2 separate regions of the Homo sapiens genome follow, and region 1 is linked to region 2. Evidence: promoter capture Hi-C in 16 types of primary human blood cells and fetal thymus (Javierre and others, 2016). All regions are on one chromosome and are shown on one strand. Each heading gives the region's core, a stretch centred on a gene start or on the middle of the fragment in contact. The rest is flanking DNA. Distances are from core to core; before and after follow the strand shown. Region 1 overlaps TNRC6C (trinucleotide repeat containing adaptor 6C). Region 2 holds the start of SEPTIN9 (septin 9).

Evidence for each region. Contacts are between HindIII fragments. The CHiCAGO score rates a contact against its expected background, and 5 or more counts as called.
Region 1: a fragment that was not itself captured here is called in contact with the fragment with the promoter of SEPTIN9 in region 2 in 1 of 17 cell types (naive B cells); the score reaches 5.4 in naive B cells.

The regions. Positions count from the first base shown.
Region 1 is chr17:78,006,097-78,010,570 of GRCh38, forward strand. The region is part of intron 3 of TNRC6C (trinucleotide repeat containing adaptor 6C); the gene reads left to right. Among named protein-coding and RNA genes, the nearest start is that of TNRC6C, 50 kb to the left of the region's middle. The HindIII fragment of the contact is 6,923 bases long and covers 1-4,474 here.
Region 2 is chr17:77,280,052-77,284,491 of GRCh38, forward strand. SEPTIN9 (septin 9) reads left to right here and starts at 1,448. Exons shown (of 12, transcript NM_001113491.2): 1 at 1,448-1,503. The coding sequence starts at 1,485. SEPTIN9-DT (SEPTIN9 divergent transcript) reads right to left here and starts at 1,846. Exons shown (of 3, transcript NR_136503.1): 1 at 1,561-1,846. RefSeq lists an enhancer at 1-177 and a silencer at 1,779-1,942. The HindIII fragment of the contact is 6,769 bases long and covers 1-4,440 here.

The DNA.
Region 1 (4,474 bases), core at 822-3,321, 730 kb after region 2:
GAACTTCATAGCTGAACAGGAAAGGAATTCGTTTACAGATAATCTCCTAGTGTGAATTAAGAGGCTGGTTCTTGGTTAAGAACCAGTTAATGGTAAAGGCAAGACTTGAGGGAGTCCAGGTCTCTGAACCTCTAGACTAGAGTCACATGAAGAGAGGGAGTTAATGCTCAATGAATATTAAAAAGCAGCATAGCAAAAAGGACATTTTTCTCTGTTATACTCTCAGAAGCACTGTGAATTTACATAACACTTTTCCAGAAGGGTCCAAAAGGTTTATGGTACATAGTTGTGTATGAATTTATGATCTTGAATGAAAAACAATGGTTTCTTACTATTGTCATTTCAAAATACAGAGTTAACTGTTCTGGATCATCCATTTCTTCTTCTTCTTCTTCTTTCTTCTTCTTCTTCTTCTTCTTCTTCTTCTTCTTCTTCTTCTTCTTCTTCTTCTTCTTCTTCTTCTTCCTTCTTCCTTCTTCCTTCTTCTTCCTTCTTCCTTCTTCCTCCTTCTTCCTTCTTCTTCTTTCTTCTTCTTCCTTCTTCTTGAATTTTTCTGTCTGGTTTAGTACCAGCTATATTCTTCATCATTGTCACTGTTTTCTACTCAAGTAGTAACAAATTGCTTATTACTGAACAGTGATTGTGAATTACATTGTCCCACCACTTTACGCAGAGCTATCATTTTCTATTACTGTTCTGATGAGAATTTTCTTTTATTTATTTATTTATTTATTTTTTTTTTTTTTGAGATGGAGTCTTGCTCTATCGCCCAGGCTGGGTGGAGTACAGTGGCATGATCTCGGCTCACTGCAACCTCCACCCCTCAGGTTCAAGTGGTTCTCCTGCCTCAGCATCACCCCACCCCCACCCCATAAGCTGGGGTTACAGGCACGCATGGCCACACCCAGCTAATTTTTTGTATTTTTAGTAGAGACAGGGTTTCACCATGTTGGCCAGGTTGGTCTCGAACTCCTGACCTCAAATGATTCCCCCCCACCTCGGCCTGCCAAAGTGCTGGGATTACAGGCGTGAGCCACCGCACCTGGCCTCTGTTGAGAATTTTCATTGCTAACTCCAAACTCTACTGGATTTTTCTCTTCTCCTTCTATATCCTCTAAAATACTGTTCCTTTGGGTACAGTTTATCAGTAACTACTAACTAGCCTTAGAATGGGTTGTAGTAATAATTAATGTCTTTCCAAACAAAAAATGCTTTTTGAATTATAAATAATCTAACAGTACTGCTAGGTAATTCATTGATGAATATTAGCAGCATCAAGGTTTACGTTTTTCTCAGACTCTTCATTATTACTGGTTCAAACCAAAATTCATTGCCTGAGAAATATTGGTTCCAACTTTCTGACTGGACACTTTTGTCGGGTGACACAGGTTGGCCTGACTGTACCTATGATACATGTTATAGTACTAGTATTAGTGTTCACACATAAAATTGATGCTTTCCTAACATTCTAGCATTTTGACTTCCCTCCCCTGCTCCAGATTGTGTGTCTATGAGGGCAGGGGCCACATTTGCCACAAGGCAGCACCCAGAAGTCTCAAGGCCCTGAGTTGTTTGAATATAGGAAAGTGTTTAGCAATTTGAGAGAGTCCGAGAGTTGGATACTCTTAAGAGAGAAGCTGCAGTTATAAATTAGATTGCATAATATACTGAATCAATCAACATTGTAGAAGTTTGAATAATTTTGGTTTTGATAATTAGCTCAAACTAGACCAAATCAATTAGAAATTCCCTTACTCTGCAATATTACACACCACTCAACTAGTAGCATTCGTAAAGCCATGCCCCAATTATTTAGCATTATATTTGACTTAATTTTCTCAATAATAGAAATGCTTTAAATTTGGATTTGTTTTAAACATTTTCAAGGAACTTTTTAGAATATATGACATGCTCATCTATGATACTCCTCTACCTTCTCCTGGAGAATATTAACTAGTCTAATCCGTTCTTAATAGATGAGTCTCCATTATAGCATTAATTATACTTAAAAAAATGTTTGCATCTGGCTATAACCATCAAACTTGAACTATGAATTCTTATTTAAAAGACTAATGCCGAACTGAAGCTAACTGGAAATATATGTTTTTTGAATAACTTAATATAATATGTAGCATGCTTTCCTACCCTCCCCCAACAAATTTGAAAATTAGATTTCTAGGAAGTCTGCTTTGTAAAATTACCACTGAACAGAAATTTTGTTCCTGGCTATCTTTTCAAATTCTGACCTGTGATATCTTTGGGTCATTTTCTTTTTAAGATTCAGGCCAAGTGAGTACGTTTGTGTGAAACACTATGCTGCCAACATTCATACCCCCATCCTACCCTGATGTGATCATGGGAACCACGTTTTCTCTGCAGCCAGGAGATACACTTTTATTCAGCCCCGGGGGTTTTCACTCAAATAGTTGATTCACTTTGGCTTTCATCAGTTTCTTCCTCTTGACTCCCCCTTGATTTTCCTCTATGCCTCTAAGTCTGCAAACCCTCCAGTGGGGTTGACATCCTGCACTCCTAAGGAGTCTGGGCATGTTTCTAAACCTGGAGGCCTTTTCCTTAGTTGTCTCAGAGTGTTGGGTTGTTGTTGTAGTCAACTTTTTCTTATTTTTCCCTCCTGTGATGAAAAACAAAAGTTATATATTCTGATTGAAAATAATTTGAGATTATCTAAAGAGAAATTAAAGTTCACTCGAAATTCCTCTGTCCTGAGATATTTACCCATTAACAGTTAGCCATCCTTGAATGCATCTCTCTATGAATTCATATACATAAATATATATTTATATGGACTCTCCACTGCTCCCCCGCAGTTAGCACTCCTGGATCCCTATCCCTTCAAGGAGCTGCACCAAGCAATTTGAAAACCTCTGTGGGAGCCTATTCATAAACTAGCCCTTTGTAAATTCTGCTGAATATCGTCTTTGCGTTGGTGACCAAAGAAAGAGACAGCCGAACACAATTACCTGTTACCTTAGTGAGACCCTAGATGCTCTTATACTGGGGGAAAAGGGAATCAGATATAATCCTGTTGCCATTAACTTGTGCATTGTAGCTCTCTGTGGAGTAACTGGGGTCCAAGTGTCACTTCAGACTGGCATGGGTTTTATGACCATAATGAGTAATCAGTTTTCTTTATTTTTGGCACTGCCCTTAATTGAGGCACAGGTAATAATAGCTTTATTTGTGATATGATGACCTTGGGAGCCTAAGTTTTCAGTATTGTTTTCTGGGTGTTTTCATGGATTGAGTGAGGGTTTTTTTAATGATTAACTATGATAATTTTCATAAATGTGAAAATTTAATTCAGTGCTTTTAGCCAGATTTGTTTAACTTCATAAAGTAGATGTTTTCATACAAAAAGCTCAAAGTTAATCTTACCATGTATGAAAGTGAATACCTTCATGACCCATTATGGTTCATGGTCCATATCATTAATGAATTATGTTTTTGTTTTTTTGAGATGGAGTTTTGCTCTTGTTGCCCAGGCTGGAATGCAGTGGTGCAATCTCGGCTCACTGGAACCTCTGCCTCCCAGGTTCAAGCAATTCTGCTGCCTCAGCCTCCAGAGTAGCTGGGACTACAGGTGCGCACCACCATGCCCAGCTAATTTTTGTATTTTTCATAGAGACAGGGTTTCACCATGTTTGCCAGGATAGTCTTAATCTCCTGACCTCGTGATCTGCCCACTTCGGCCTCCCAAAGTGCTGGGATTACAGGCGTGAGCCACTGCCCCTGGCCTGAATTATGATTTTTAAGTCATATACATCTGAATTTATACTTTTTTTGAGAGAGAGGGTCTAACTCTGTTGCCCAGGCTGGAGTGTAGTGGCACGAACACAGCTCACTGCAGCCACCACCTCCGAGGCTCAAGTGATACCCCAACCTCAGCCTCCCAAGTAGCTGACTACAGGTGCATGCCACAGTGCCTGGCTAATTTTTGTATTTTTTTATACAGGCAGGGTTTCGCCCTGTTGCCCAGGTTGGTCTCACACTCAAGCAGTCCACCCACTTTGGCCTCCCAAAGTGCTGGGATTACAGGCTTGAGCCACCAGCTCAGCCCAAATTCGTACATTTAATTAGTATCCTAATCTTGTTTATAAAGAGTATAATTTTAGTTTTGCAGTGAGGTATTAAACTTTACCATGCGTTCAGTTTGTAATTGGTAAACAAAACCTCTAGGTGCTTTTGTTAATAATGTAAGTCAGTTGAAGCCATAGTCTTCCAGTAGTCTTCAGTTGAGTGATGGAGGTTTTAGAGTCACAAAGTATTGGCAGTGTGCTTAGGCTCATTCTAAACATATAAAGTTTAATATCAATCAGAATGAAAAGTAGTAAGAATTGAGGTTTATAGCATATCTTCCCAATTTTATAGTCACACATAGAAATATATGTTTTTCATATGTTTTTTCTACAACCACATAATGGGGCTGGAGACATGAGTATTCTGTATTTGTTGT
Region 2 (4,440 bases), core at 198-2,697:
CTGTGGCTGGACAGATTACTCAAGAAAGGAAGCAGGTGGGCCGGAACGAACCCACGGTGCCACATAGGCCTCCGTTCTCATGCATATAAGTTTCCCACACTCAGGCAGGAAATGAAAATGCTTCTTGGACCCCCAAGGAGAGTAAAGGAGAGGGGAAGAGGAGGAGGATTTTTCGGGGCTGTTAGTGACACTTTCAGCCTCCTGTGCATTTTTGGGAGGGCTGCAGGAGAAGGCAATGCTGCGCCCCTACCCAGAACTAGCGAGCGCTTCCCAACTGGCCTCCCGCCTTCCTCTCGTCCTCTACGGCCTCCATTGGCAGCTGTGCAAGGGCCCGGCCCTGCCTCTGTCTCTCCACACTCGCTGTGATACCTCAGGCCTCCCAGGCTCCGCCACGCCCTTCCCTCTTTCGGGAACAGCTGCCTTCCATCACCTTGGCTGCCTGGCTAATTCCTGCTCATTCCTTAAAACCCTGTTTTGATTTCGCCTCAATAAAACTCTGACACCACCCTCCAGTCATAATTAGTCACTTCTTCCTCTGTACGTTGGAAACACCGCTTTATCGTGGAGACTTTAAGGATATCCAAGTAGAGAGAATTCTTCCGTGCAAGTTTTGCATCCTCTCACCACTGCCTGCGTTACCCGAGTTGTAAAGGGCGGCTCCCTGTGTCTGCCCCGCTGCACCGATACACCGAGCTGCGCACGGTGCCCAGCGCAGGGAGAACAAATGATCATCTGTCCAACGCGCCCATTTACAGGTGAGGAAACTAAGGCTCCAACTCAATCGACGCACTCTGCCCTTTTGATTACCAGAAAAGTAGCAGGACAGGTGTCCTGTCCCGCCCTACCCCGGCCCACTAAGCCGGCACCCCGGCTCCGACCCCCGGCTGTGCCCGGCGCCGCCGCGGTGCCCGGCGCCGCCGCCTCGCCCGGCGGGGCCGCCCGGAGCGCCCGCACCTCCGCCCGCTTCCACCTGGCCGGGCCCGCCCCGCCCGGACTCGGGACTGGGAAGTGCGGCGACTCCCGGAACCAGCCATTGGCGCCAGCGCGGGGAGCTGGGGGTGCAGAGCTGCGGGCGCGGCGGGCCACGCAGGCGGCCCCCACCCCCGGCCTGGCCTGGTCTGGTCTGGTCTGCGCTGCCGCGCGGGGGCGCCCCCTCCCAGGCCCGGCGCCCGCCAGCCCCGCTCCGCCAGGTGCAGCGCAGCGCAGGGGTGGGCGGGGGTGGGGCTCGGCGCGCACGTTCACGGGGCGGGGAGGGGGCGGGTCAGGGGCGGGACCACAGCCGGCTGGGCCGGGGTTCTATGCGCATCTCCGGGGAGGGGCGGGGCGGGGGCGGGGCCGGGGCGGGGCCCGGTCGGTGCACTCCAGACGGCGGGCCGCCCCCTCTTCCCGCCTTCCTACTACCGGCCCAGGATTAGCGCCCTGGGAGCGCGCGCCCCGCTGCCTCGCCGCCACACTTTCCTGGGAGCGGCGGCCACGGAGGCACCATGAAGAAGTCTTACTCAGGTGGGCTTCGCGCCCGGGGTGGGGAGGGGTCGGTGTCCCGGGACCAGCGCTGCTCACCTGAGTGCCTGCGGCCGGGAGTGGCGAGGCGCCCCCGGAGCTGAGCGAGTCCCCGCGGCGGGCACACTGCAGGTCGAGTTCCTCCCAGGACAGGGCCGCTGTCGGGCCGCTTTCGACCTGAGCCGACCGTCCCCTGCGCTGTCTCCAGCCCTTGCTCGAGTGTCGGAGGGGCTGCCCTGGGGGACGCTCCCTCTTCCTCGCCCCTTGCACCCTCGCAGGAATCGCTGACTTTCCAGGTCGGCCGGGTGCTTTGGGTCCCTGTGCGTCTGTGTGGGTGAATGGGGTCGGGGCTAGGTGGAGGGGTGTCCTTGGGTTCAGCCTCTAGGGCTGGTGGTCCAGGCCGCAGCATCCTTTCTTCGGATTCTCTTCGGTTTCTCCTCTACTTAGTGGGGCACGGGACGGCCTCCAGATGGGACCGTCCAGCAGCGCCCAAACTTGGCGACTCGGGTTCACGTTTTGCGCTCAGGACGCCGCCCGCGGCTGACATCCTCACTCCACCCTAGCAGGGCCCGCCTTAAGTAGGCGAAGGGGGCCTGACTTGGGCCTCACCATGAGCCGGTTCAGGAGCTTTCATTTCATAAGAGGCTCCCGCTCTGGCACTCTGAAGTTCCATTTCACAGATGGGCACACCGAGGCCACAAGGGCAGGTTAAGAGAAATCCAGATCTTCATTATTTGTCTTTTCCTTCCTTTTTTTTTTCCTTTGTGGTTTTCTCCAAAGGATCCAGGCAGGCAGGATCCTTTGTCCTCCTCAGTCCTCAAATTATAAATAGCGTCTCCTCTTCTAAATCTAGAAACCGTTTGTTTAATGTCCCTCCTTTAATTCATTCAGATAGAAAGGTACCTGCCAAGGATCCATGAATTAATTTTTATTGATAGGAGAACAGAATCATGGGCCTTAGTTGGAGGTGAAGGAGTCATCGGGGCCATCCCCCTGCCTTTGGGCCATTGTCGGTTTCCTCTGGCTTTCCATATTTAGGAACCAAAATGAGTGATAAAGTACCTTGTCTCAAAGAGGATTACTCAGAACTTCCCCGAAAATACCCTTCTGGGTCAGTAGCTTAGAATTTCAACTTTCACCCGGTTGTTGCGAACAAGATGGCCCTCTACGCACCCGGAGCACAGCTCTGTCAGGAGCGTGGGTGGGTTGGTGTGCTGGTGGGCGGGAGCGGGCTTCCAGGTGGCACATGCTTGGTTTTGGCACCGGGGCTTCCTCCCCAACATGCTCCAAATACTTGAGATTGTTGTGGGGATCGCGCGGTGCATGGCCCTTTCCAGGGGATCTCTAGCCCGCCCAGGGAGGGCCCTTTGCCCTTGGTTTCTTACACTTTACCTCCCACTGGTGGGTCCAGACAGTGGGGGTGACCGGGGTCCTCCCAGGTCGTGGGTCCTGGGTTTTTTCTGCGGAGACCCTCCTGCACAGATGCCGGAAGGGCCCTGAGGCAGGCTTGGAGTCTCTGCACCTGCGGCTTACTGGGAGGTGGGGAGACCATCACTTGTCCTTTTCTCCTCTCCTCCACACACACCTACCCCACCCCTCACTGGGTTTCTTTTTTTTTTTTTTTTTTAAAAAAAAGGACAGAACCTTTTGCAGTAGGTGGAAGTAGAGTTTGTGGAGTGAGCAGGAACCAACTCTTGTACAGCAGCCTCGGTGCCTCCTTGTGTTTACCTAAAGGGGCAGGCCCCTCTGAGGATGGGGGAAGGGAGGGCTCAGACCATTTCTGGTTTGCTCCCTGCTTGGCAGTGGCCCAAGGTGTGCTGGGTCACTGTGTTGCAGTTGTATGGAGTGGGACTGGAGGGGGCTGATGGTGGGGGTGGCCTCTTGCCCTCATTCTGAGTGTCCTGGAGCTGTCTTGGCACCAGCCCTTTTCCGGGTACGGGCACTCGCAGGAGTCAGGCTGACCCCCCAACAAGCCATCGACACCATGAAATTAAGGAAAGCAGCAAAAGATGTTAAAAATCCCCCAAGGCTCTGACAATCCAAGGACAACAGGAAGGTCTTTATTTTTTCATCTAGACTGTGCGGGATTATTGCTTCCAGACCTGTATGTGGGCTTCAGAATAAACGGAATGACCATAATGTTGTTCCCGGTAGACCTGGTTTGAACATTCGTGAGCCTCTGAAAAGGAGAAAGATTTTAGAAGGATGTGTTGGGGCAATCTCAAGTACCGTGGGTCTATAGACAGTCATCGAAGACACTTTATGTGCTGGGCACACATGGCCAAGTCTGAGTGGGTACAGAAATGGTAATGAGATATAGTCCTTGCCTGCAGAGAACTTACATTCTCACCGGGAGTCAGGATGAGGGCGAGACACCAGCTCATTAACACCCTTCCCTCCTGAGCAGTTCAGCCTCCAAATACTACAGGAATGCCCCGGAGGTTTTAGGTGGAGGTGAGATTGAGCTGGGCCTTGAGGAAGGAGAAGTCTTGAGTAGTGGAGAATAAAAAGGGACTTGGCCAGGTGCGCTTGAAGTCCCAGCTACTCAGGAGGCTGAGACACGAGGATCGCTTGAGCCCAGGAGGCTACTCAGGAGGCTGAGACACGAGGATCGCTTGAGCCCAGGAGGCTACTCAGGAGGCTGAGACAGGAGGATCGCTTGAAGCCAGGAGTTCAAGGCTGCAGCCCTGTGACAGCGCCTGGAAATAGACACGGCACTCCAGCCTGGGTGGCGTCATGAGACCCCATCTGTAAGAAGGTCTTTTCCAATGCGGAAGGCAGCAAGGGCCCACACAGGGCAGCTGCAGGATCCAGGGGGACACTGGGGACAGGTTCTCTCTGGCAGCTCCACTGCTGCTCCAGGCTTTCCCGATTGCCTCACCCGGCCTTCCAATGGGGTGGAGGTAGTGGTAGTCTACAGGCAGTGTGGTCCAGTGGTTA